Linked DNA regions of Homo sapiens: regions 1, 2, 3, 4, 6 and 7 are each linked to region 5. Evidence: promoter capture Hi-C in 16 types of primary human blood cells and fetal thymus (Javierre and others, 2016). All regions are on one chromosome and are shown on one strand. Each heading gives the region's core, a stretch centred on a gene start or on the middle of the fragment in contact. The rest is flanking DNA. Distances are from core to core; before and after follow the strand shown.

The links. The method cuts DNA at HindIII sites, captures the fragments that hold promoters and counts their contacts. A CHiCAGO score of 5 or more calls a contact.
Region 1: a contact is called between a fragment that was not itself captured here and the fragment with the promoter of PTGFRN in region 5, in 5 of 17 cell types (naive CD8 T cells, non-activated CD4 T cells, total CD8 T cells and 2 more). The highest score is 6.1, in naive CD8 T cells.
Region 2: a contact is called between a fragment that was not itself captured here and the fragment with the promoter of PTGFRN in region 5, in 2 of 17 cell types (naive CD4 T cells and non-activated CD4 T cells). The highest score is 5.2, in naive CD4 T cells.
Region 3: a fragment that was not itself captured here is called in contact with the fragment with the promoter of PTGFRN in region 5 in 2 of 17 cell types (fetal thymus and activated CD4 T cells); the score reaches 5.7 in fetal thymus.
Region 4: a fragment that was not itself captured here is called in contact with the fragment with the promoter of PTGFRN in region 5 in 2 of 17 cell types (naive CD4 T cells and M1 macrophages); the score reaches 6.6 in naive CD4 T cells.
Region 6: a fragment that was not itself captured here is called in contact with the fragment with the promoter of PTGFRN in region 5 in 8 of 17 cell types (non-activated CD4 T cells, naive CD4 T cells, naive CD8 T cells and 5 more); the score reaches 8.3 in non-activated CD4 T cells.
Region 7: a contact is called between a fragment that was not itself captured here and the fragment with the promoter of PTGFRN in region 5, in 1 of 17 cell types (naive CD4 T cells). The highest score is 5.2, in naive CD4 T cells.

Annotation. Positions count from the first base shown.
Region 1 is chr1:116,713,731-116,717,319 of GRCh38, forward strand. It overlaps the pseudogene GAPDHP64. Among named protein-coding and RNA genes, the nearest start is that of LINC02868, 21 kb to the left of the region's middle. The HindIII fragment of the contact is 2,739 bases long and covers 906-3,589 here.
Region 2 is chr1:117,071,842-117,075,780 of GRCh38, forward strand. It overlaps TTF2 (transcription termination factor 2), which reads left to right. Exons shown (of 23, transcript NM_003594.4): 4 at 1,820-1,886; 5 at 3,029-3,939. Among named protein-coding and RNA genes, the nearest start is that of TTF2, 13 kb to the left of the region's middle. The HindIII fragment of the contact is 827 bases long and covers 1,757-2,583 here.
Region 3 is chr1:116,661,424-116,665,231 of GRCh38, forward strand. All of the region lies in intron 2 of IGSF3 (immunoglobulin superfamily member 3), which reads right to left. Among named protein-coding and RNA genes, the nearest start is that of IGSF3, 4.4 kb to the right of the region's middle. The HindIII fragment of the contact is 806 bases long and covers 972-1,777 here.
Region 4 is chr1:116,747,484-116,751,104 of GRCh38, forward strand. No RefSeq gene overlaps it. Among named protein-coding and RNA genes, the nearest start is that of CD2, 5.1 kb to the right of the region's middle. The HindIII fragment of the contact is 1,551 bases long and covers 695-2,245 here.
Region 5 is chr1:116,908,234-116,912,021 of GRCh38, forward strand. It overlaps PTGFRN (prostaglandin F2 receptor inhibitor), which reads left to right and starts at 1,683. Exons shown (of 9, transcript NM_020440.4): 1 at 1,683-2,019. The coding sequence starts at 1,971. The HindIII fragment of the contact is 4,060 bases long and covers 1-3,352 here.
Region 6 is chr1:116,730,993-116,734,581 of GRCh38, forward strand. No RefSeq gene overlaps it. Among named protein-coding and RNA genes, the nearest start is that of CD2, 22 kb to the right of the region's middle. The HindIII fragment of the contact is 4,954 bases long and covers 1-3,589 here.
Region 7 is chr1:116,765,155-116,768,809 of GRCh38, forward strand. It overlaps CD2 (CD2 molecule), which reads left to right. Exons shown (of 5, transcript NM_001767.5): 5 at 3,310-3,655. The coding sequence ends at 3,629. Among named protein-coding and RNA genes, the nearest start is that of CD2, 13 kb to the left of the region's middle. The HindIII fragment of the contact is 976 bases long and covers 799-1,774 here.

The sequences.
Region 1 (3,589 bases), core at 1,025-3,524, 190 kb before region 5:
GATTCTCAGTGCAATGGGGGACTGAGTGCAGCAGAAACTCCCCAGCAGTGAGGGCCTCTCTCTTCCTCTCATGCTGTCACTGGGGCTGGTGGTCTGGGGGTCTTACTCCTTGGAGGCCATGTGGGCCATGAAGTCCACCACCCTGTTGCTGTAGCCAAATTCATTGTCATAACAGGAAATAAGCTTGACAAAGTGGTCATTGAGGGCAATGCCAGCCCCAGTATCAAAGGTGGAGGAGTGGGTGTCACTGTTGAAGTCGGAGGAGACAGCCTGGTGCTCAGTGTAGGCCAGGATGCCCTTGAGGGGGCCCTCTGATGCTGCTTCACCACCTTCTTGATGTCATCATATGTGGCAGGTTTTTCCAGACAGCAGGTCAGGTTCCTGGCCAACACATTGTCAGTGGGGACTCAGAAGGCCATGCCAGTGAGCTTCCCATTCAGCTCAGGGATGACCTTGCCCACAGGCTTGGCAGTGCCGGTAGAGGCAAGGATGATGTTCTGGAGAGCCCTGCGGCTGTTATGACACAGTTTCCTGGAGGGGCCATCCACAGTTTTCTGGGTGGCAGTGATGGTGTGGACTGTGGTCACGAGTCCCTCCACAGTACCAAAGTTGTCATGGATGATCTTGGCCTGGGGTGCTAAGCAGTTGATGGCACAGGAAGCATTGCTGACTATCTTGGGGCTGTTGTCCTACTTCTCATGGTTCAAGCCCATCATGAACATGGGGGCATCAGCAGAGGGGGCAGAGATGATGACCCCTTTGGCTCCCCCTGCAAATGAGCCCCAGCCTTCTCCATGATGAAGATGTCAGTGGACTTCACAACATACCCAGTGCCAGCATCACCCCATTTGATTCTGGTGGAATCTAGCTCCTGGAAGATGGTGATGGGATCTCTATTGATGACAAGCTTCCTGTTCTCAGCTTTGACAGTGCCATGGAATTCGCCATGGGTGAAATCATACTGGAACATGTAGACCATGTAGTTGAGGTCATTGAAGGCATCATTGATGGCGACAATATCCACTTTACCAGAGTTAAAAGCAGCCCTGGTGACCACGCACCCAATACAGCCTAATCCATTGACTCCAGGCTTCACCTTCACCATGATGTCTCAGGGATGCAGCTGGCGCTACACGAGAAGATGCAGCTGTCTGTGGAATGGGAGGAGCAGAGAGCCGGGATTTTCTTAATTGCTTCCCTCCCTCACTGCCCCCCCACCGAGGCAGAGTCTTGCTCTGTCGCCCAGGCTGGAGTGCAGTGGCACGATCTCCGCTCACTGCAACCCCCGCCTCCCGGGTTCAAGCAATTCTCCTGCCTCAGCCTCCCGAGTAGCTGGGATTACAGCCATGCACCACCACTATGCCAGGCTAATTTTTGTATTTTTAGTAGAGATGGGGTTTCACCATGTTGCCCAGGCTGGTCTCGAACTCTTGACCTTGTGATCTGCCCACCTTGACCTCTCAAAGTGCTGGGATTACAGGCATTAGCCACTGCTCCCGGCCCTCTTGATTGCTTTTTTAGAAAATTTGTTGTTAGTGTATAGAAACACTACTGATTTTTCTATGTTGATTTTGTATCTTGAAACTTTGAAAAATTTGTTTATCAGTTCTAACAATTTTTGGCAGTCTTTAGGATTTTCTCTAAGACCAGATTGCCAGCCAATAGAGGCAATTTCACATCGTCCTTTCCTATTTAGATGCCTTTTGTATCTTTTGCTTGCCTAATTGCTCTGGCTAGAACTTCTAGCACTATGTTGAACAGAAGTATCAGGAGTGACGTCCTTGCCTTATTCCTGAGCTTAGAAGAAAAACTCTCAGCTTTTCACTACTGAGTATGATGTTAGCTGTAGCCTTGTCATATGTGGCCTTTATTGTGTTGAGGTACATTTCTTCTGTTGAGAGTTTTAATCATGAAAGGATGTTGAATTTTATCAAATTTTTTTTCTATATTGAGATGATGGTTTTTGCCCTTCATTCTGTTAATATGGTGTATCACATTTATTGATTTGTGTATGCTGAACCACCTTTGCACCCCAAGGGTAAATCTCACTTGATCATGGTGCATGATCCTTTTATGTGCTGTTGAATCCAATTTGCTACTATTTTGTTGACAATTTTTTCGTCTATGTTCATCAGGGATATTGGCCTGTAATTTTATTTTCTTGTAGTGTCCTTGTCTGGATTTAATACCAGGGTAAAGGCAGGCTTGAGAAATGAATTTGAAAGTATTCCCTCTGCTTCAATTTTTTGGAAGAGTTTGAGAAGAATTGATATTTTTCTTCTTTAAATATTAGGTAGAATTCAGCTATGAAGCCATCCAGTCCTAGGCTGTTTTTTGATGGGGAGCTTTTTATTACTGATTCAATCTCCTTACTAATTATTGATCTATTCAGATTTTCTATTTCTTCATGATTCAGTTTTGGCAGGTTGTATGTGTCTAGAAATTTATCCATTTCATCTAGATTGGATTTCATAAAAATCCAATTTTTTGGCAAATAATTGTTCATAGTCATTTCTTATGATCCTCTGTATTTCTGTAGCACCAGAAATACAAGCTAAATAGTTTCTACACAGCAAAGGAACCAACTAACAGAATAAAGAGGCAACACATAAACAGGGAGAAAATATTTGCAAACAATTCATCTGTTAAGGAGTTAATATCCAAAACATATAAGGAACTCAAACAACTCAATAACAAGAAAACAATCCAATATTTTAAGTGGAAAAAGGACCTGAATAGACATTTCTCAACAGAAGATGTACAAATGGCCAACAGCAGGGAAATGCAAATTAAAACCACAATGTGCTATCACTTCACACCTGTTTCTAACAGGCCATTATAAGAAAGACAAAAGAGAAATGTTGGTGAGGATGTGGAAAAAAAGGAACCCTTGTACACTGACCGTGGAAATGTAAAATAGTACAGCCATTATGGAAAACAGTATGGAGCTTTCTCAAAAAACGGAAATTAGAATGAACAGATGACCTAGTCATCCAACTTCCGGGTATATATCCAAAGAAATTAAAATCAGTCTGTTGAAGAGATATCTGCACTCTCCTTCTCATTGCAGTATCATTCACAATAACCAAGACATGGAATCAATCTAAGTGTCTATCAACCAGTGAATGGATAAAGAATATGTGGTATGCATACACAATATATGCAACAGAATACTATTCAGCCTTTGAAAAGAAGGAAATTCTGTCATTTGTGACAACATGGGTGAACCTGGATAATATAATGCTAAATGAAATAAAACAGGCACAGAAAAGCACATACAGCATGATCTCACTTATATGTGGAATCTAAAAAAGTTGAATTTCTAGAAGTAGAGTAGAATGGTGGCTACAAAAGGCTGAGGAGTGCAGTGGGGTGGGGAACAAGTAGTGTTGATCAAAGGGTACAAAGTTTCAATTATACAAGAGGAAGATGTTTTTGAGATGGTCTCAGCATGGCACAGCATGGTGACCATAGTTAGTAATAATATATTATAAACTTCAAAATTGCTGAAAGAGTAGACTTTAAATGTTCTCATTGTGCAAGATGATAAGTATGTCAGGCAACAGATACGTTAATTAGCTTAATATAG
Region 2 (3,939 bases), core at 920-3,419, 160 kb after region 5:
GTCAGCTTTATTAGGTTGGTGTAAATGTAATTGTGTTTTTTGCCATTAAAAGTAATGGCACAGAGGCAGTTCATGGATTAAACAGGGAAGGGAATGTGGGGAAACCTTGCCAAGCAGGTACGACTTAAGATGGGCCTTGAGGGACCAGTAGGACTTCCGTAGCTGGAGATGGGGGAGATGGTAGACAGATTGGGATGATGAGGATATCCTTTGGATGGAGAGTAGTACCCATGCAAAGTCTAGTAGACTGGAGGGTGCATGGCTTAGTTCGGCAGTGGAACAGCTTAGACACCTCTGGATAGCTGGAGTATGGGCTGTGTTTGTGTGTGCAGGAACTTTCTTGCACTGGGATGTTAAATCTGTATTCAGCCTTCTTTTTTTGGTGGAAGAGTGTAAATATATACAGAAGTAAGATAGGGTACTGTAGCATGAGCTTCAACAATTGCCAGCTCATGGCTACTCTTGTTCTATATGTATCCTATCCACTTCACCCCGTAACTCCTGCCCTATTTTGAAAAAAATCCCAGATAACATTATTTCATCTGTCAATATTTTAGTATGTAGCTTTAAAAGATACGGACTTTTTTTTTTTTTTTTTTTTTGAGACAGAGTCTCACTGTGTCGCCAGGCTGGAGTGCAGTGGTGCAATCTCGGCTCACTGCAACCTACGCCTCCCGGGTTCAAGCGATTCTCCTGCCTCAGCCTCCTGAGTAGCTGGGACTACAGGCATGTGCCACCACGCCGGGCTAATTTTTGTATTTTTAGTAGAGACGGGATTTCACCATGTTGGCCAGGATGGTCTCGATCTCTTGATCTCGTGATCCGCCCACCTCAGCCTCCCGAAGTGCTGGGATTACAGGTGTGAGCCACCGCACCCGGCCAAGATATGAACTATTTTTTAAAAAATATTTGTATGTTTTAGAGAAGGGAGTCTTGCTGTGTTGCCCAGGTTTGAGTGCAGTGGCTATTCACAGGCACAATCTTAGCACATTGCAGCCTCTGGCCTCAAATGATCCTCCTGTCTCAGGCCCCTGAGTAGAGGGGACTATAGGTGTGTGCCACTGCATCCAGCTGCACTCTTTTAACATACCAGTTGGTTTACATATTTTCAGTGGACTCATAAATGTCATAGTTTTTTTTTAGTAGTTTTAATTTGTTTAAATCAGGATCCAAATAAGGTTCACAAATTGGAATTGATTAATATGTCTTTTAAGTCTCTGAAGTTTTCCCTTCATCTTTTTTTCTCCCTCGTAACTTATTTGTGGAAGGGATCAGGTTGTTTGTCCTATAGCGTTTCCCACTGCCAAGATTTTGAAGGTTATATTCTCCACAGTATAGTTTTACGCCTTCTTCTGTTGTTTCTATTTCCTATAAATTGGTAATTGGATCTAGAGGTTAGTTTTTTGTTTGTTTTGGCTTCGTTGTTTTGGGGTTTTTTTTGGGGCAACATTGCTTTGTAGCTAGTGTTGTGACCCCCCTTCAGGGACACACAGTGTCTGGCTGTCTCTCATTTCTCTGATTTTAGTAGCCATTGCTGATCAGTGTTTCTATTTCAGTCATTCGTTACAGACTAAAAAGAATAAACCTGTGTGCATTCTCTGGCTACCATGCCATATTTATTCTTGGACTTCCTAGCCCTTATAAATGTTCTGTGCAGTAAATAATTTTTAAATGTGTATATAAAAGTAATTGGTTTCAAGTGACCTCCCAAAGCCAGGTTCAAATAGTTGCAAGATGTTTTCTTGGATTAAAAATAAGCTTATCTCTTGTTCTAATGGATTTTCATAGCCTTGATTATTTGTGTTTTATACTTCATTAGATTGTTCTTCCGATGCATTAGAAGTAAGGCAGAGGGGAAACGCTGGTGTGGAAGTATTCCATGGCAGGTAGGAATTATTCATCTGTTTTCAAACCTGCTGTGTTAAGACTTTTAATATGCAGCATCACCTGAAAATACCTTGAAGTTCACGTAAATGAGTTGGTCTTCATCAGACTGTCTCCGAAAGATAGTTTTCTTTAAGCAAGGTAGGCCCTGTTGGGACTTTTATTCAAAGGATCATTTAGTCGTAATCAAGATTAATTATTTGCATCCTATTTCACTTAGTAAATATTTTTTGAGGTCTTAAATGTAGTCAGTATTCTTTTACTCAAGGAAAAAAATAGATTTCCTTGACTAACTCTTGTATCTTTTTATAGAGGAATTTCTACTTGATACTGGTATAAGCTAAGTATAAGCATAAGCTCCTAGTATGTTAGAACTAGGAGGAGCATCTCCTAATAGGAGAAGCCCTACAGATATTCAGTACGTGAGGAACTAGAAGTAGGGAGGTGATAAGACTTGTTTTGGCAGAGGTGTGGCTTGAACTTACGATTCTAGATTACCACAGTAAAATCCTCCTAAAGCCAAAATCAAAGCAAGTGTTTTAAGACAATGTTTAGGTTTGGGGAAAAGTTCATCTTAAGAGAATAGTTTTTTTCCTGAAAAGTATACACTGTGGCCATTGTGATTGTAAAAGCACTTTGGTTTGTCACTACTTTTCCTTGAGGCCTGGAAAAGAGTGATCATGGACAGAGAAGGAACCAAGCTTCGAAAGTATCGTGAAGAAATGAGTCCTTTGTGGGTTTGGCACGTCATCTTTTCTAGACGTGGAAATGGTACCAAGAATGTTCAGGAAATATTGGACTGCTTTTACTGTGTTTCCATTTCTTCTGCAGAATAATCCTAAGTGAATTAATGCAGGAACAGAAAACCAAATATCATATGTTCTCACGAGCAGGAGCTAAACATTGAGCACCCATAAACATGGGAACAATAGATACTGTGAACTACTGGAGAGGGGAGGAGGGCATGGGTTAAGAAACTATCTATTGGGCACTATGCTCACTGCCTGAGTGCAATATACTCATATAACAAAGCTGCATATGTACCCCCTGTATATAAAATAAAAGTTGAGATGAAAAGGAAAGGCATTCTAGATACGAAGTTTGTATTAATATTTTATATGAAGATTAATTATTTTGTCTTTAGGATCCTGATTCCAAAGAACATTCTGTATCCAATAAGTCTCAGCATGCATCTGAGACATTTCATCATTCTTCCAACTGGCTGAGAAATCCATTCAAGGTACTTGACAAGAATCAAGAACCAGCTCTCTGGAAACAGCTCATCAAAGGTGAAGGTGAGGAAAAGAAGGCTGATAAGAAGCAAAGAGAAAAGGGAGATCAGCTTTTCGATCAAAAGAAAGAACAGAAGCCTGAAATGATGGAGAAAGACCTCTCATCTGGCCTGGTACCAAAGAAAAAACAATCTGTAGTTCAAGAGAAGAAGCAAGAAGAGGGAGCAGAGATTCAGTGTGAGGCAGAGACTGGAGGCACACACAAAAGAGACTTTTCTGAAATTAAATCTCAACAGTGCCAAGGTAATGAGCTTACAAGACCATCTGCATCTTCTCAGGAGAAATCAAGTGGTAAGAGTCAAGATGTCCAAAGAGAATCAGAACCTCTGAGAGAAAAGGTTACCCAGCTTTTGCCTCAAAATGTTCACAGTCACAACTCAATAAGCAAGCCCCAGAAAGGGGGACCCCTCAACAAGGAGTACACGAACTGGGAGGCTAAAGAAACAAAGGCAAAGGATGGCCCTAGCATACAGGCCACCCAGAAAAGCCTGCCTCAGGGGCATTTCCAAGAGCGGCCGGAGACCCACAGTGTGCCTGCTCCTGGAGGACCAGCGGCTCAGGCTGCACCAGCAGCACCAGGGCTTTCCCTGGGTGAGGGCCGTGAAGCTGCCACAAGCAGTGACGACGAGGAGGAAGATGATGTTGTTTTTGTTTCCTCTAAGCCTGGGAGCCCCCTACTCTTTGACTCGACTCTGGACTTAGAGACGAAGGAAAACCTCCAATTCCCTGATCGAAGTGTGCAAAGAAAGGTGTCTCCTGCCTC
Region 3 (3,808 bases), core at 125-2,624, 250 kb before region 5:
GCACAGTGACTGGCACATAAGCACTCTATAAACACTTTAATACTCACTGATAAAACCACAAAATGTAGTGTTTAATTATATGCTGATTTAGGTTGCTTCCTATGAAACAAACGTTGGTTCATCTAACTCATGCCTTCCTAACAAGCCTTCTTAGAAGCCAGAGGCTCGGCTTCAGAGTCAAACGGAATAGCTTATTAGATGTAAGAACACAGGATTTGGAACCAAATGGTCCTGGCTTCAAAACCCTACTCTGCCACTTTTTAGCTTTGTGACTATGGCAGAGATGGGCAGCTGTCCCCCAAAATCTGTTCTCTCCTTTCCCTACAGTCATAGAATCCCAAGTTTTTCTCAGGACACATGGACCCTCAGGATAAGCATATTTTCCAGCCTTCTTTGCAGCTAAATATGGTCACATGACTAGGTTCTAGCCAATGAGAATGTTAGTGGAAGTGATGTATATAACTTCCAGGAAGTATCCTTACATTAAGAGGTCCTACCCTTCACTAGCCTTTTCTTCCTTCCTGATGGCTGCGGCTAGAAGAGTCATCTTGGACCATGAAGTCATCTTGGGAATAGAGAGCATGCACATGGAGCAAGACAGCAGGAGCTTGGAGCCCTAACACTGTCAGCAATCTATCTTAGGCAAGTGACTCTTTTTTTTTTTTTGAGACAGAGTTTTGCTCATTGCCCAGGCTGGAGTGCAACGGCGCGATCTCGGCTCACTGCAACCTCTGCCTCCTGGGTTCAAGCGATTCTCCTGCCTCAGCCTCCCGAGTAGCTGGGATTACAGGAATGTGCCACCATGCTCGGCTAATTTTTGTATTTTTAGTACAGACGGTGTTTCACCATGTTGGCCAGGCTGGTCTCAAACTCCTGACCTCAAGTGATCCACCCGCCTCAGCCTCCCAAAGTGCTGCGGTTACAAGCATGAGCCACCATGCCCAGCTTAGGCAAGTTACTTAACCTCCCTAAGCTTCAATCTCCCCATCTATAAAAATGTGATAATGCAAGGTATCTATCTTACAGGGTTGTTTTGAAGACTGATTGATATAGTTGGGTCACAGTAAGGGCTAGAGTTAGGAGAGCTGGTATTACTGCCATTATGGAAGTACCAGCAGTCTTGCTGCCATGAAAACCGTAGAAGATGGCAACATCTTAACACAGCCCTGGGTACCTGGAGGTAGCTCAATGATTCTCACAGCTGAAAGGCATCCTAGTAGGCCAAGTCCTCCTGACAAGAATTTCCTTCTCCTGCACCCTTGTCAAATGGTCCCCAGGAAAGGGAAGTGCACTACCTCTGGGACAACTATTAGGACAGTGGTGTTTGTTCATCCATAAATCACAATCCTCATCCCCTTCTTTCAGAACCCTTCTCCTGATTGCTCCAAACCATCTCACTTTTCTCTGCCTCCTCTTTCTCCTCTGCCTTTGATCACTCCAGCCCTGCCTCTGAGGTCACACCCATAGTACTTCAAAGTTTCTTTCAATCCCTTTCAGAAGCCTTTTCTAACTAACTGGGAAGTAAGAGATGGCTTCCTCAGCCTTACCGTATTCAAAGAAGAGACTTCCCAAACTCTACAAATGAACTTCTCTCCCTCTGGAGCAGAACACAAATGATCATTTGCCATCTACAGGTTCTCAGATGTCCCAATCTCCTACATTTTTCATTGCTAACACTTTTAAAGCTATTTAATCTTGTTTGCAACATCAGCACTGGTCTGGGAGGTATATAACTCTTCCTGGCTACACAAAATCAAAATGTGCTGTATGTGTCTAAAGCTTATATTCATCTTTCCTGAGAATTTCCTTCCTGTTCTTACAGACACAAATCCTATGCTCTCTTTCCCACATTGCTGTCATCTTCCCATGTCACTGTCACTCATGCAGGCTGCTCCCAGACAGAGGCACTTTTCCAGTCACCCTTCCCTTCCTACCACTGTACCAGCCTCTATTCTCTCTCTAATCTTCTGCCCCTCTGGCCACATCTATCCTCAAATAGAGACTTTACTACCCTCATGGTTCAACCAGAGCCAGGCTTAAATGGCTTTGTAATTGGAACCAAGGGTTGTGGTGGCAGAGCCATGCACTGCCACCACAACCCTTATTGGGTGAGGCACCTAGGGTTAGGACAGAAGGAAACAACACACAGAGGTCAAGGGGGTAGGTACAAAGACAAAGGGTAGGACAAAGACATAAGCAGGAATCAGTATCCCAACAGACAGAAAAGAGGAATCTGATTCCAATCCCAGACACTGGCAAAGGACAGGTGCAGAAAAGCACAGGTCTGTCATGTTGAGGGAGATGAAAGCGTCTCCGAGATTTACCCTGTATACCCCTCACATACTGTCCAGGGTTTTCTAACTAAAATTGCCATTTCTAGAGGCTGGTACCTGCATCGGTCTCACTTTCAGAGCACTTAGCCTTATCCAACTTTTTTAAACAAAATTTTATTCCAGGCATGTGACCTATATGGGCTTAAAACCTTGGGATTCTTCGCTGTTTTAAATTCATACTACACATTAATTCACATTATGCAGCAAGAATGCTGACACATGAACCAGACCACATCAGAAGACAAGCAGGAAATAAGACCCCAACATGGGTTTTGCTCCCTCCCCAAACGCCTTCTACCTCTCCCAGATTAGTAAAGTAGTAGCCAGGCCTCCTTCCTGCCATACTGAGAGCCATCAGGTGAAGAGAAAGATGAGGTTCCACCAGTGGGGCTCCAAATCAGGCAGAGATCCACATGCATGCCTACAGTTCCAAACCTTCCCACTTCAGCCTGCATCTGGATGTCTGCCACTGTGCCCCTTTAAAGCCACCTTGATGCTCATTTTCCTCCATGGCACCTGTTTACACATGAAGATGAGGGTGGAGGGAAAATGACAGCACCTGCCAGGTGCCAGGGCCCGAGCTCCACTCCACAGAGTGGCCCAGAGAGCGAACAGCAGGGGGACCAGCATGCAGCCTTACATTACTTGAGCAGCCAGAAGAAACAAAAGGCACAAATGTCACATTGCCTTGTTTTCCCATTGATGGTTACTTCTCCTGCCCTGGGCCCCACCCTGCCACTCAGCCCTCTTTCCCGCCTTAGCCACACACCCCACCCCACATCCAAACCTCCCCAAGGGCTTTCCTTGTTTGTGTCCTGTTGAATCCACATGAATCACTAATTGCTGATTTAAACCCAGACACTAAGCGAATGACACATACAGTACAACAAATACAGATCCAATATGAAGAGACTGGCAAATGAAGGGCTCCCTGCCTTCTTGACTCTGCCTGAGCATACAGGTGACATGGAGACACTGCCTGTATCCCAGCCCACAGCTGAACAGAAGACTAACTAAACTACCAGCAGGGTGTCTGCATGCGTTGGGTGGTAGGGCACTGGCGCTAGTGAACTCACCCACTGGTTCTCTACTGAACCATGCATGGAATTACCTGAGATAGCTCAAAGGCTGAGACCTGGGTCCCACTCCCTAAGCGAGTTTGGTTTCACTGATCTGGGGTTGTTGCCTGAAATCAGAATTTTTAAAAGCTTCCCCAGTGATTCCAACATGCACACGAGAGTTTGAGAACCACTGATTGCACAAATCTATTATGAGTTTCAGACATTATTTAAGGCAGTCAAGGCATTTAGGACACCTTATATCCTTTAGTTATCACACCTTCCCTTGTTTTATTGTTTCTGTTTTATTGACATTCAGATGTCAATCATGGTGAAGCTGGGATAGGAACTCAGGTCCTCTAATTCTAAAGTCCATTCTCTTCCCACACACCTGTTACCTACTGCAAGGGTGTAGAC
Region 4 (3,621 bases), core at 220-2,719, 160 kb before region 5:
TGCCAAATGAATTTAAAACTTGAAATCAAATAGCTGCAGGATTTGAATCTATATTGTTCTCATGGGTAAATGTAAACAAAAATGTAGACTGGATAAATTACATTTACTATAATCAACAGCAGTTTGTCAATTATGCTAGGGATACCATTAAAGGAATAGCTGAACAATTAGGCCCTACCACCCAAATGGTCCGGGAAAATAGAATAGCCCTGGACATGATATTGACTGAGAAAGGTGGGGTCTGTGTCATGATTGGGGTCCAATGCTATACTTTTATCCCTAACAACACAGCCCCTGATGGAACAATTACAAAAGCCTTACAGGGCCTTACCACCCTAACAAATGAATTAGCTAAATTCTGGAATAGATGACCCCTTCTCTGGTCTCATGGGAAAATGGTTTGGAAAATGGAAGAGACTCATAACCTCAATCTTTACCCCTCTTGCAATTGTTATAGGTGTACTCACTCTTGTAGGTTGCTGCATCATACCTTGTATTTGTTGATTAGTGCAAAGGCTTATAGAAAAAGCCCTCATGAAAACCCCTCGATTCTCCCCCACCCTACTCAGATAAGTTCCTACTCCTAAATGACTAAGAGGAGCAACAAAGTCAGGATATGTTAAGGAAATGTGAAGAGGGAGAACTATAAAGTCAAGAGGGGGAAATTTGCCAAAAATAATAAGTTCCTCTTCTAAGCTTCCTTGGTCTTTCTTAATCTGTAATGAGCACTTCGTACTCTGCTTAATCTGTAACGAGCACTTGTTTCTCTGCTTAATCTGTAACTGGCAAACCTCTTACTCTTTAAACAACTCTTTTCACCTAGTTGGTAATGGACAGCCTCTCCCTTCCTGCCTAATTGGCCTTATTCAATTTCAAACACTAGCCAATTGAGTCAGCTTAGACTGTGCGGTCTGACTCCAGCCAGTGGGGAAAGGACACAGAAACAGGAACTGCATTAGGGATAAAAACCCCTGTGCTACCCCGCTTAGTGTGCTCGTACAATCAGAGGGACACAGGCAGCACCCATCTGCAGAAGTAAATGTGCCTTGCTGAGAAATTTTCTGTCTAAGTGCTGGTTTTTCCTTGTGGCACTGAGCACTTATTTCTAACAGTCCTGACTTGACCTGAGCCTTGTTAAGGCTCTCCTTTGACAAAGGGAAAGGGAGGTAGAAGTCAAGACCATCAATATTTTACTAATCAGGGAATAAGAGGTCAACCTAAAGTAAGACCTCCAAGAATATTTTCTTCCTTCTCTGCTTCTTATTCTCTTCCCTGTAGCCTACTTCCCCAGGAGTGTGAGTTTAGGTAAGAAAAAGAATCAATGAAGACAGAGCAAGAGCTAACCTGTACAGTGCAGCAAGAGTGGCAAGGGAGGAGCTGGAATGAGCAACCGAGTAGATGGTCCCCTGAAATGCAAACACTCAGAGGCAGGGACTGCACCTGCCTCAGCACTCAGAACATTTACCGAAGTGACAGGTCCACTTAGAATTAAACATAATTCAATTGAAGGACAATACGTGTTCAATTTAGATATATTAGAATAGCAACAGCAAGCAAGGAGGGCAGAATAGTAGCTATTATCCCACCACACAGGGACCAACACCCTGGGGACATTCTGCAAGAGATGCACCCAACACACGCTTTTTGAGAAATAAAATGGGACTATATTGTTGACTGTGAAGGGTACCAGAAGATGCTGATGTAGGACAGGTAAGCCCCATTGGGGCTTAGCCTGGAGTATTCTTGGCTTCACTCAGGAAAGAATCAAGGGCGAGCTGGTGGTGTTTGACAGCAACTTTTATTGAAGCAGCAGCAGAGGTACTGCTCCTTGCAGAGCAAGTATACACCACAGGCAGTGTGCCCAGAGTATCAGCTTAAAGGCAGTTCTGCAGTCCTATTTATACCCATTTTAATTATATGCAAATTAAAGGGCAGATTATGCAGAAATTTCTAGGAAAAGGGTGGTAACTTCTGGGTCGCCAGGTCATTGCCATGGAAAAAGGTGGTAGAAGTTGGTTATTGCCATGGCAACAGTAAACTGACATGGCACACTGGTGAGCATGTTTTATGGAAAGCTGCTTCCACCTATCTCTGTTTTAGCTAGTCCTCAATTTGGTCCAGTGTCCAAGCCCCACCTCCAGAGTCAAGTTCCACCTCCTACTTCAGTGCCACCCTAAAACATGCCTTTTTAACATATGGTTTTTTTTTGAGCAAAAGGCCATCATGAACCAGCAGAGGCAGTAAAAGCTTTAAAAACATGGCACAATATTTTTCTTTTGTAAAGAAAATTTACAATTTCTGAAGAAAATAGCCGTTTGTAAAAGGTATCTCCCTCTCCTGTATCAGGAAGAGGAGGACTCTTAACAACTCTTATCAATGGAGAAGGCATTGGCTTCAATCTGCATAACAAACCTTACTAAACACATCTTGTTGTTTGGCACACTTTTCCTGGTCATTGGGTAACTTGCCTCCCCAACCTAGAAGCCCCAAATCGCTTTTTCTTTGTTTAGTCTAATATACTCTATAAGTCCAAGTTCTAACATCCCTTTGGGTTACTCACCACTGGGTGCTCCCATGTTTATGAGGGATACACATCTTAATCAACTTCAATGTGCCTTTCCCTTCTTAACCTGTCTTTTCCCAGTCTGGTTTACAGGGCTCCAGCCAGAGAACCTAAGACAAGAAGAGGAAAAAGATTACTTTTCACCTCTCCTACAATTGGGACCTGTTTTTGTCATATTCCACAGCTTGTCTATATCATGATTTACTTAACCAATTTCCTTCTCTTAGACATTTAAATTGTTTCCAATTTTGTCTTTAAAATACTGCAGCATATAAATTTATAGCCAAGTCTAGTACATAGCCTTCATTATTTCCTTATGATAAAATCATCCTTGTGGATTTGTTAGAAATCCACAAATGTTTGATACTCTAATTCACACTGACAAATTGCCCACCAGAAACTATACCTACTTGCAATTCTCCTGGCCATATACAAGAATGCCCATTTACACCATCATCAACACTATGTTTTCATTTTTCAAATGAAGATGAAAAATGCATCTATGTTAAAACTGACATTTCTTTATTAATAAATAGAAATAAAATTTTTCTTTTGTGGATTGCTCCTTTTATGACTTTGACCCATTTTAGTTTTAAGGTGTCTATCTTTTCTATGTTTACAAGAAAAATTTAATACTAAAAATTTAATGTTGGCCAGGCACGGTGGCCCACACCTGTCATCCCAACACTTTGGGAGGCCAAGGTGGGAGGATCACTTGAGCCCAGGAGTTCAAGATGAGCCTGGGCAACATAGTGAGACCCCCCGTCTCTACAAAAAATAAAAAAATTAGCCAGGCATGGTGCCACATGTCTGTAGTCCCAGCTACTCAGGAGGCTGAAGCAGGAGGATCACTTGAGCTCAGGAGGTCAAGGCTGCAGTATGCTGTGGTGCTGTGGTCATACCACTGCACTCCATCTTGAGCAACAGAGCAAGACCCTGTCTCTAAAATTAAAAAAAAATTGTTATGCCTTTGTCATGTATCTTGCAAGTAATTTGCTCCTTTTAGTACGTTGTCTTTAATTTTTTTATGGCTTTTTACATAGAAAGTTTTCACATTT
Region 5 (3,788 bases), core at 433-2,932:
TTTTTTTTAGAGACGGTGTCTCACAATGTTGCCCGAGTGGTCTCAAACTTCTAGCCTCAAATAAAAAAAAAAAAGAAAGAAAAAAGAAAAAGAAGAAAAAGTGCCAGCCCAGTGGCTCAGACCTGTAATCCCAGTCTTTGGGGAGGCCGAGGCGGGAGAATCGCTTGAGCCCAGGAGCTCGAGACCCGCCTGGCCAACATAGGGAGACTCCAGTGTCTACAAAAAATAAAAACAATTAGCGAGAGTGTGGTGGCACACATCTGTGGTTCCAGCTACTTGAGAGGTGGAGGTGGGAGGATTGCTTGAGCCTGGGAGGTCAAGGCAGCAGTGATCCCTGATCGCACCACTGCACTCCGGCCTGGGTGACAGATCCTCATTTTGAGACCCTGTCTCAAAAATGAAAGAAAGAAAGAAGACAAAACAAATAAAAACTCCTGGCCTCAAGCAACACCATCCCTGCCCCCCGCCTCCCCCTGCCCCCCCAACCTCAGCCTTCTGAGTAGCTAGCATTACAAGTACCAGTTACCAGGCCTGGCAATTTTAAACATTTCTAAGTGTACCATTCAGTGGCATTAAGTACAATAACGTTGCACCACCAGGAATGAATTTTTAAGTCTCTTTCCAAAGATACCTGGCTAATCACACATTTGATAGTGGGGAAATAAGAAACATTTGTTGGTTGAAAGACGGATGCATGAGAGTAAAAGCAGTGTTCTTCCCCAGTGTGGGCAGTTTCCGCATAAGCATCTGCGATCCGTTTTGCATGTGAATGAAAGCCCAGTGACGGGCAGTGGGCACCAGTGCTGCTCCTTGCGTGTTTGAATCATGCTTGCTAAGTTTCAAGCAAGGAATGCTCCATTTCTCCCAACCAAGTCGGGCCTTTTGTATTCAAATCAAAAGCACAAAACTCTATTGTAGGGGGAAAAATGAGTCTTTATTGGCAATCAGTGGTGTCCACTTAGAGCAATAAATATTAAGTCTTAAGAGTACATTCTATATGAAGTACTATAGCTATTAATACACTTGGGTTTTGTTTGTTTTTTAAATGGGTGTCTTTGTGGGGTGCTGTTCTAATCAGTGCCACAGGCGCCGAGGAGAGGGAGGGAGCTGGGTAAGGAAGGAGACAGGCCCACCCTAGCCACCGGGGAGTGGGCAGAGTCAGGAGAGCGGGGTTCTGATTTTGCCCCTTCCCTGTGAATCCTTGGGCACCTCACCGAAACACTTAAGGCCTCTGTATGGTAGAGGTTGGAATCCGTGGCCTTTAAAAGTCCTTTCAGCTCCTTCGCTCCTATCTGCATAATTTTTGGCATAGGCCAAGCGGCTGGTTGGTGGGGTGTTTAGCTCAGGACGAGAGGCCGAACGAGCGGGGAGTTGGCTGAGGATAGACTAGACACGCGTGGGTGACTCCAGCGTGATGGAACGCGGGGTGTCCCGGGATAGGGCTAAAGCGATGGGATTTCCAGACGAGTCTTTCCCAGGCCAACTTTTAAAGGTCGGAGGAAAGTTTCTCGTGGGGTGGGGGCCCAGAGGGGATGGCAGGGTGGGCTCCGACGCCTCCTCGCCTTTAAGCGGGTGGCCCCGGCTCTTCCTCCGTTACCTGGAGCGGGGAGGGGCTTGGGAAAGTTTGTGTTTGTTGCTGGCAAAGCGCCGGATGGGAGGCGCGGGCGGGCGCTGCGGTTCTTCCCTTCTGCTTTCGGGAAGCGGTCGGGGCTGCACACTCGGATCGGCGGGGCCGGCTCCCGGGCCCGGCCGGCTGGAGGAGGGAGGGAAGGAGGCGGGAGGGAGCGAGCGGAGCCAGGGGCGCACGTACGCCCCAGCGCTGGGATTTATCGGCTCGCGAGGAGAGCGGAGCAGGCGCGCGGCCCAGGCGGAGGAGCGCCGACTCTGGAGCAGCCGGAGCTGGAAGAGGAGGAGGAGGAGAGGCGGCGGGGAAGGAGGAGGAGGGGGAGAGTCGCTCCCGCCGGGCGAGCATGGGGCGCCTGGCCTCGAGGCCGCTGCTGCTGGCGCTCCTGTCGTTGGGTGAGTGTGCGCGGGGCTCAGCGGGGCACACGGGGACTGGCGAGGCCCTGGAGGGCTCGGCGGGGCGCGGCTGCAGCGCGCGGCCTGGGGCGCCGAGGGTGCCCGGGCTGCTCCCGGGAAACCCGGCCGGGGTGCGCGGGTTGTTCGGCCCGGCGGGGAGCGGCCGCGGGGCCGCCCGGAGCCTGGCGCGAATCCGCTCGGGCCCCGCGCGCGGGGTGCAAGTGGCCGCTCCGCCAGGCCGAGCCTCGCCCCCAACATGTGCCGGGGGGAGTGGCCCGGGGCCGTCTTTCCCCCAGGTCTCCCTACCTGTTGGCCGCCGGGAGCCCGGCTCACCTTGAACTCCCGGCCCGGAAGGTGCTGCGGTCCCGGCCCGGGTCCTCGGCTCGAGAGCGGAAATGTGAGCCTTTGATATGCCCCGCCATAGCCGCCGCCGGCCGGGTCGCTCTTCACCCAACCCGCGCGGAGTTGCCTTTCCAGGGAAGCGAGAGAATCCTCCAACTTCCTTCCACGAAGGTCACAGGGTGGCCCGGAGCGTTACAATGGAAATCGGCGGGCGAGTCCTGCCGTCATTTTCGTCGTGGCTAGATCTTCTGCCTCAGTCTTTTCTTTTAGCTTTTCTTGAAGCTGCCTAGCTGCGTATTTATACACAAAGACCTAAAAGCCTGGCTTCTCCAACTTTTTCTACCTGTTACTTTCCCTCCCTTACTATCCCCTCGTCTTCCACCCTCCGGAAACCCTGGGTGCCCCGTGAGGTTTTGGCCCAGCGCCCTCCCCCCACCCAAGGAATCTTTTGTGGGTTTTTTCCCTCTCCATTTTCCATTCACTCCATACACAGACACCATCTTCACGTAGATCCACATGGTGATCCTAGCCAGCCACGGAAATATGTTTATTAAGTGCCCACCATGGTACCCCAGGGCCGACTCTTAAATGTTTTGATATTCTTGGATCCTTGTTGTCAGTGTCAACCAGGACAAGATGATTCCTGTGACCTGGCCTGGGGTTCTCTTCCAAGCCCCTAGAGAAGGCGGCTCTGAGTCTTTCACAGAGCGCATGATGTGCGGTGTCCGTGCCATTCAGGTCCCAGCTGCACACAGGGCAAATGATTACTCTGCACTTATGGTCAGAGGGTTCCAGAGGAGGCCTTCTATAGCTACTCCCCTGCTGGGGACACCGGGGCCCACACTGCTGTAACCCCCATGACTCCTGCTGCTGATGAACCAGCCTTGCTGGCTGCTGTGTTTTCTTCCTTCACCTTGAAGGGATTTTCTGAACTGACTCCCTCAGAGAGCTCGTCCAGCCACATTGCTTCAGCTTCAGCCCATGTGCAGAAAGCTTCCAGATCTTCCACTTAGTTTTATGGCATCTTTTCTATAGTCCCTGATCCTAGTGCTTTATTTTTATTTTTGAAACAAAGCCTCAGTCTTTCACCCAGTCTGGAGTGCAATGGCACAACCACAGCTCACTGAAGCCTCAAACTCCTGGGCTCAAGTCATTCTCCCACCTCAGTCTCCTGAAGTGCTGGAATTACAGGCATGCTCCACCACACCCGGTGGTAGTGCTTTTAATCTTTACTTTTCACTCTGGGACCCTTGTAAGTTGTATGTTAGTGGCGCACTGCTGTTATAGTCCACACACATTAATTGACTTTATGTGTCTGGGTCAAGCAGGGCCATGGCCTAGGTTTGCACAGATGGTGCACTGTACAACTTCGGGAGCTGCTGTTCACTTTGTAGTCTGTGTGAATAACTCCCCCTAGAGCTGTGCAG
Region 6 (3,589 bases), core at 502-3,001, 180 kb before region 5:
GCGTTGAGAGCCATGGATAATTAAGTGCTCCTAGTCCAAGACCTTCAAACTTCACTTTTGATTTGTTGACAGCCAGAGGCAATGTCCGTCCCTCTATCTATGACCTGCAGGCACCACAGCTATAGTTTCCCCTGAGCGTTTTGCTTATTCTTCTCATTTAATGCCTATTTTGCTCTGCCCTGACTTGTGGTTCGTCATTTCTGTGTCTGTCTCTCTTATGTCATAAAATTGAAGTCATCTCACTCCTTTGCAACCCACGCATACTTTGGATCCTATAGTCTCCATTTCTATTAACATCATTGCCTAGATTATTCTGGAACCATCTACAGCCTCCTTTCTCCCTCAGCCTTCACAGGTAATAGGTCACCAAATTGCATTTTTATGAGTACCCTCCTTTTCATTCACGCTAGATGCCCTTCATTAAACTTTCTCTGGATGCACTGGACATTGTGGTGGCCAACTTACACCCAGCCCCATTCTCTCAATAACCACCTTTGGCTTTCTTTCCATCACCACATCTCCTCATTTACTTAAGGGATGCCAACTACCCAGAACTCTAGGAATGAAGGCTGTGGCTTATGCCTAACCCAGTCAGTGTAATTCCACCCCACTCCCCCACCTCCCTGTTATTCTCATTGGTTCAGGCTGAGCACATGACCCAGTTCAAGCCAATGAGGCTAGAGAGGACATTTATTGAAGTCTTTGGGAACAAAAAACTTCCTTGCTCTTCTGAGAACACTCCCAGAGTTGAGCCAGGTGCTGGAAGCCATCTTCCCCACTGTATGGGAAGAGGCTACCTGAAAATGAAGCCAATGCAGAAGAAAGCAGAGACAAGAGATATGGAAAGATGAAGAGTCCCAATTTTATTATTCAAGTGCATGGATCCAGCTGTGCCTGAACCACTCCTACACCTTTGTTATGCACCCACATTCTACATCCAATCCATAAGCAGATCCCACCAGCACTGCCTTTGAGAATATTCAGAATCCAATTCCTTCTATGTCTGCTGCTACCTTCCTAGTCCTCTTGCTCAGACTACTGCAGTAGCCCTCACACTGGTCTCACTGCTTCCACAAGTGGCCCAGGAGATCCTTTTAAAACCGTAAGTCGGATCACACTACTGCTCTGCTCAGAACCCTCTAACAGCTCCCCATCCAACTCCAAGATCCTCACCATGACTCTCAGGCCCTGCATGGCCTGGCTGCTCCCGCTGTCCTCCTCTCTTACCACTCTAGCCCTCGCTCAGCCCACTGTATCCTCACTAGCATTTTAGCTTCCACTTCAGGGCCTTTGCACTTGCTGATCTATCTCCCTGGAATGCTCTTCCACCAGATAGCTGCACGGTTTGTTCTCTCTTTCTTTCAGGGTGCTGCTCTATTGCTACCTTTTCAGTTAGGCCATCCTTGACCCCTCCTTCCTAAAATAGCACTTTCTTATAACTCTGTATCCCCTTGCCTTGCTTTATCTTATTTGTAGCACTTACAACCACCTGAAAAAATTATATACTGTCAACTGAAGAATCACAAGGTTCATAAATTTGGAAAGGAGAGCTGTACTTCTCTGCAGGTGACCATTCTGACAGGCTGGAAGTGTAGCCTCTGGCCAGAAGCCAGAAGCAAGGACTTAAGGGTGGGAAGACTAAGACAGGGATTTATGCTGAAGAGGGTGGTCAAATATACATAATCAACAGGTTATAGGAAGAGCTATAAATAGTAGCAAAGGGGAGTTGTGGGCATGCATAGCAGGCTAATGTGTAAAACACGCATCCCGTGTTCGCTCTAGGGTGGAAACTCAACATTTAAATGTATTACAGTTAGGCTCTATATGTCAAAAGGTGAAGCAGGGGACACAAAGGCCCTCTGTGTGCAGCCTCTGTAGACTGGCCCAAACCACCCCATGGTCAGTGGTGTCTAATGAGGAAGGGACTCTGATCAGTTGTTGTACTGAAACAGGGCTGGTTTCTGTTTAACCCTTAGGGAAAAAACCCTAATAGTAGTTAGCAGAAGGGAGTGTAAGGAGATGTGTCCGACTTCCCACTCTGTCATGGCTGGGAAGTCAGTTTTTAAGGTTTCTTTGAGGACTCTTTGGCCAGGCGGGGGACCATTCAGTTGGTTGGGGGACTCGGGATTTCATTTTTATTTCTCAGTGTATATGTGGTTGTTGTTATCTGTATCTACCCTTTAGAACATGCACCCTATGAGAACCTTGGGCTGCTTAGTTTGCTGCTATATATCCAGCTCCTAGAACAGCAGCTGGCAAGTGAGGTACTCAGCAGAGTGCTGTCAACTTACTGATTGGATGAATTAACACATGAGCTAATCATTTTCCTATTTTTGCATGAAGTATTTTCAGTTGAGTTTCTGCCACTTACAAAGTATTCTCACACAACATTTAATTAATATGTTTGCTTAAAAAGTGGACCAATGAGTACCTTAGCTTAGGTTGGGTTGTAGGTTACATCCTCATAGATAACAATACCTGACATGTGACTGTCCCTTTTGAATGCCAAGACACCACATTCAGGGCCCTCTTACATACTTACATTGGTTTTACAATATCAACAGGGCAAATATTGCCTTCCCCCCATATTTCAGGAAAAGTGAAGTGGTTTGGTGGAGTTAAGCAGCAAAGCAGGGACTGGAGCCCACATCTTGTCCCCAGCCCACAGCTCTTGCCACATCTCAGTTTTGCATTTCTGTCCATAGTTCTGCAGCTTCATAGTGTGGCATTCACCCACAGGCCTGGGGGAGTGCTATGAAATCCTGTTCCCATGTGATATCTACTTATCTAACATTTCTAATTCCCTCTTCCCTGAAAGCCAATAAAATTCTAAATCTTTTCCACATGAGACTGTGGGCTTTTTGGGAAAAAGAAAATCAAGCATATGGCTCTCAGAAAATAAAATCTGCTTTGTGAGATAAAAATCTCCCTCCTTGCCCCCACCCTCCCAGCTACCCCATGGTATCACATTCTTTGGAGTTTCATTTTACATGTTGGGGCTGGGACAACAGACACATGTGTGTGCCTGCCTTGAGTGGTCATAATACATTGCAAAAAATCCTTCTGCAACCCCTCTCTTCCAGAGTGGTTTTTTCCTTCCTCAGCTATTCCCCACGGATGACATTAGCTCCCTTTTTAATTCCTTTCCCCTCGCTGCACGCTCTGATGTTACTTACCAACCCCCAGTGGATATGCAGAGGCTTATTCAGTGTCACATGTAATAGATAAAACAGCGGGGGCTTCTAATCGGAAAATGTTTTGCAGGCTGCAAAAGACTATGGAAAACCACAAAGCTGCCAATATGGTCCAGAGTTTATTAATACATATTTGGCACAAGTGTGGCACACAACACTGCCCTGTCCCCCATGGGGGATTAGTTACATGTTTACAGACATAGCATACTGTGGAAGGGGGGCAAGGATATAGCCCCCTTTCTAGGAACCTTCTGCAGAGCTTGTTTTTTTATCTGAGGCCCAGAGACATCCAGGTAGTATGCCTCTTCATGTGGGCACAGCATTAGAGGTTGCTTGAGTCTTCTTCCTATTTTATTTATTTTTATTTATTTATTTATTTATTTTTGTAGAGATGG
Region 7 (3,655 bases), core at 37-2,536, 140 kb before region 5:
ATCTATCAGCAATGAAAAGGTTATGCTTGCAAGTGGGGAGCCGGCTTAGGGAGCATCCAGGCCACCCAAGGCAGAACACTTCAGAGAATGGCCAACCCGGGGTCACTGTGGGGGGCACAGATGAGGGTGTCAGCCATTGGCGGGACTTGCAGCCAAGGGAACAGGCCCTGGGGTTCTCTGCAATTCACGTTCACAGCAGGACTTGGTCTCTCCCTAGAACCGGCAGGCACAGCCACACCAGCTGCTTCCAGTGCTGCCCAGGGAGGTGGTCCAAACTTCCCCAGGCACCGGTGGCCTTGGGCCCCGTGCCCTCTGGATTTGGCTTCTTTACCTCAGATTTCTTCCTCAGTTCTCCTTCTGCCTCCCCATCAGGCTGCGGTCCCTCAGCCCCACGTCCCATCACGTCACTACCCCCAGCCCAGGCCCCGAAACATCATCCTGAACTTAGTCCCATTCTTCCCACCACGACTGTCCCACACTTTCCACCACAGCACAGCAGAATCGCTGGCAGGGCCCTTAGGCATGCCTGGCTTATCCTCCTCTGTGCCCAGCTCTGGCTGTTCTCCATGCTCCTCTCCATGCTCCTTCTCCATTGACTAATGGTCAAAGACCATATCTTCTTCCAAGGTGGACCTCACTTGTCACCCCAAGACAAGGCAATCTCTGCCATCACCAGGCTGAGAAGAATGATGGTTAGCTCATGCTGATAAAAAAGTCGTTAGTCTCTGTGTTTTATGTCTATTAGTGCATCCAGCTTTCAGAGTGATCTTAGGAGATAGATAACAACACAGATGAGGAAGCTTAAGTTCAGTGAGGTTCAATTATTTGCCTTAAATCCTATGGCCAGTAGGTTGACTCAGGCCTAGGCCGAGGCAAGGAGCCCAGAATTTAAGGCATAGAATTTAAGGAGGCTGGCCTGCCCTTGCACAACCTGAAAGTTGGTGTGTCTTTAAACTGCATGCCTGTCAGCCTCGCTTGCCTCATTCCAGTCATGCCCTGGGTTGAGTAACCAGGAGATGCAAACAAGGGAGAAGGACAATGAGCCTGGAGGAATTCCTGGGAGCACACATTTAGGCGCCAGCTGCAGCTGCTGGAGTGGGTAGGCTGAGGACCCACTGTCCTGCTTGAACCAGGCAGGGTGCACAGAGCCGTAGCCAACCTTGTCTGTCCAACCCTGCCTGCAGTCTCAGCCATGTGGCTACACCCCATTCCTCCTACCAGAGCTCATGTGCCTCTGTCTACACTTTCTGGTGGCCCTGGGCTCTTCACAGAAATTGACATTGCGATTTTCAGTTCTTGTTTGCCTCTTACTTGATTTTAGGCTTCCTGAGGACAATTTGTGTCTAAGTCACAATGACACTTAACACTTGGAAGATGAGGAATAAATGTTGGAAGGACAAATGAACCAAATGGTGTATGGGCCAAGTGTGGTGGCTCATATCTGTAATCTCAGCACTTTGGGAGGCCGAGGCAGGAGGATCATTTGAGCTCAGGAGTTTGGGACCAGCCTGGGCAATATAGTGAGACCTGGTCTCTACTTTAAAAAAAAAACTTAAAAATTAGGTGGGTGCATTGGTGTATGCCTGTAGTCCCAGCTAGTCAGGAGGCTGAGGTGGGTGAATCATTTCAGCCCGGGAGATCAAGAATGCAGTGAGATACGATCACACACTGCACTCCAGTCTGGGCAACAGAGCAAGGCCCTGTCTCAAAAAAACAAAACAAATAAAAAACAAAAATAGTGGGTGAACAGAGTAGTAAACCAATGGCCAGTGCAAGCTTGCCACATAGGAGATGAAGAAGGACCACCCACTGCCCCATAATTCAGAACTAGGGCCAGGGGTTAGAGCCCTCTCCACAGTCTACTGGACATAACCTAAGCAATGACTGCAGGGCACGGAAGATGGCATAGAGGATGTGTTTTGTCCTTTCTGGAGGCCCTTTCCTCTTTGTGCTTAGAGCACACGAGCCATTTAGGTATCAAAATCACATTGTCTAACTTTGACTCTACACTCAAAGCCATCTGATGCTCACATTTCATGTAGTCAGAGGAGGCCATCTGGTTTGAATCAACATCCGGAAGTTACAGGGTGATGCTTAGAGAGGGCTTGTGCTTCCCCAGCCACACATCTCCATAAAGATGTAAGAGGTAATTATTTCAGCTGGGTGCGGTGGCTCATACCTGTAATCCCAGCACTTTGGGAGGCCAAGGCAGGCAGATCACCTGGTCGGGAGTTCGAGACCAGCCTGACCAACATGGAGAAACGCCATCTCTACTAAAAATACAATATTAGCCGGGCGTGGTGGTGAACGCCTGTAATCCCAGCTACTCAGGAGGCCGAGGCAGGAGAATTGTTTGAACCTGGGAGGCAGAGGCTGCAGTGAGCCAAGATCGCACCATTGCACTCTAGCCTGGGCAACAAGAGTGAAACTTCAACTCAAAAAAAAAAAAAAAAAGAGGTAATTATTTCACCCCAGGGAAAAACTTCTCTTCCTACCTCCCTCTGGAGCCACTGCAAAGACGGCCTTGGGTGCAGGGACTGAAATACCTAACTTACAGCCTAAAGGAGTCCAGAGGGGCCAGCAGGGTGCTCCAGGCCTCTAGCAGCTGGGCACCTTCACAGATTCCCTGTGATTTTAAGAGTACAGGAAAAACTACATTACGAGTAGCTGTAGGCCTGCTTTCATGGACTGAAGTCACACAAAGAAGAAAATCCTGAAGGGTGAGGAGAGGAGGAGTTCTTTCCCTCCTAAGGCCAAGAACATAGGTCTTGAATTTCTGAGAAGCGAGTAAATTTCTAAGGACAAAAAGTTCCTTGCATGTGTTCCAACCTCTTGCCGGAAGGTGGATTGCATGACAGTAGAATTGGGGGAAAGGCAGATCTAACATAGAAATGCCTCAGAAGGAATGTAGTTACTAATATCCTCCATGACTGCTCATAACCCCTTCCCATGCGCTCTAACCATGAGGTTCTTGCTCTCAGGGAACAATTTCTAGGTCAGCACAGAGGTAGGGTTCCAGGTCTGCGTGCTCTCTCTGATCATGGGAGCCCCAGGCACAAAGCCCTCCACCCATGTGTCTTCTTCCTGCTGATTCCTTGAGTTCTCTTGTCCTAGGCTTTCACTCTACCTTATGGTGAGCACTTCTTTCTCTCCTACAAGCTTAGAGTTCTCAGATAGTAGGGGCAACTTCTGCTTCCTCATTGCATCCCCCAAAGCAGCTAGCATGGCGCCTTGCATATAAAAGGTACTCAATATTTACATTGATTTCACCTGGCCAAGATGAACTCTATTGAGGTTTTGTTGTTGCAGATGAGGAGCTGGAGACAAGAGCCCACAGAGTAGCTACTGAAGAAAGGGGCCGGAAGCCCCACCAAATTCCAGCTTCAACCCCTCAGAATCCAGCAACTTCCCAACATCCTCCTCCACCACCTGGTCATCGTTCCCAGGCACCTAGTCATCGTCCCCCGCCTCCTGGACACCGTGTTCAGCACCAGCCTCAGAAGAGGCCTCCTGCTCCGTCGGGCACACAAGTTCACCAGCAGAAAGGCCCGCCCCTCCCCAGACCTCGAGTTCAGCCAAAACCTCCCCATGGGGCAGCAGAAAACTCATTGTCCCCTTCCTCTAATTAAAAAAGATAGAAACTGTCTTTTTCAAT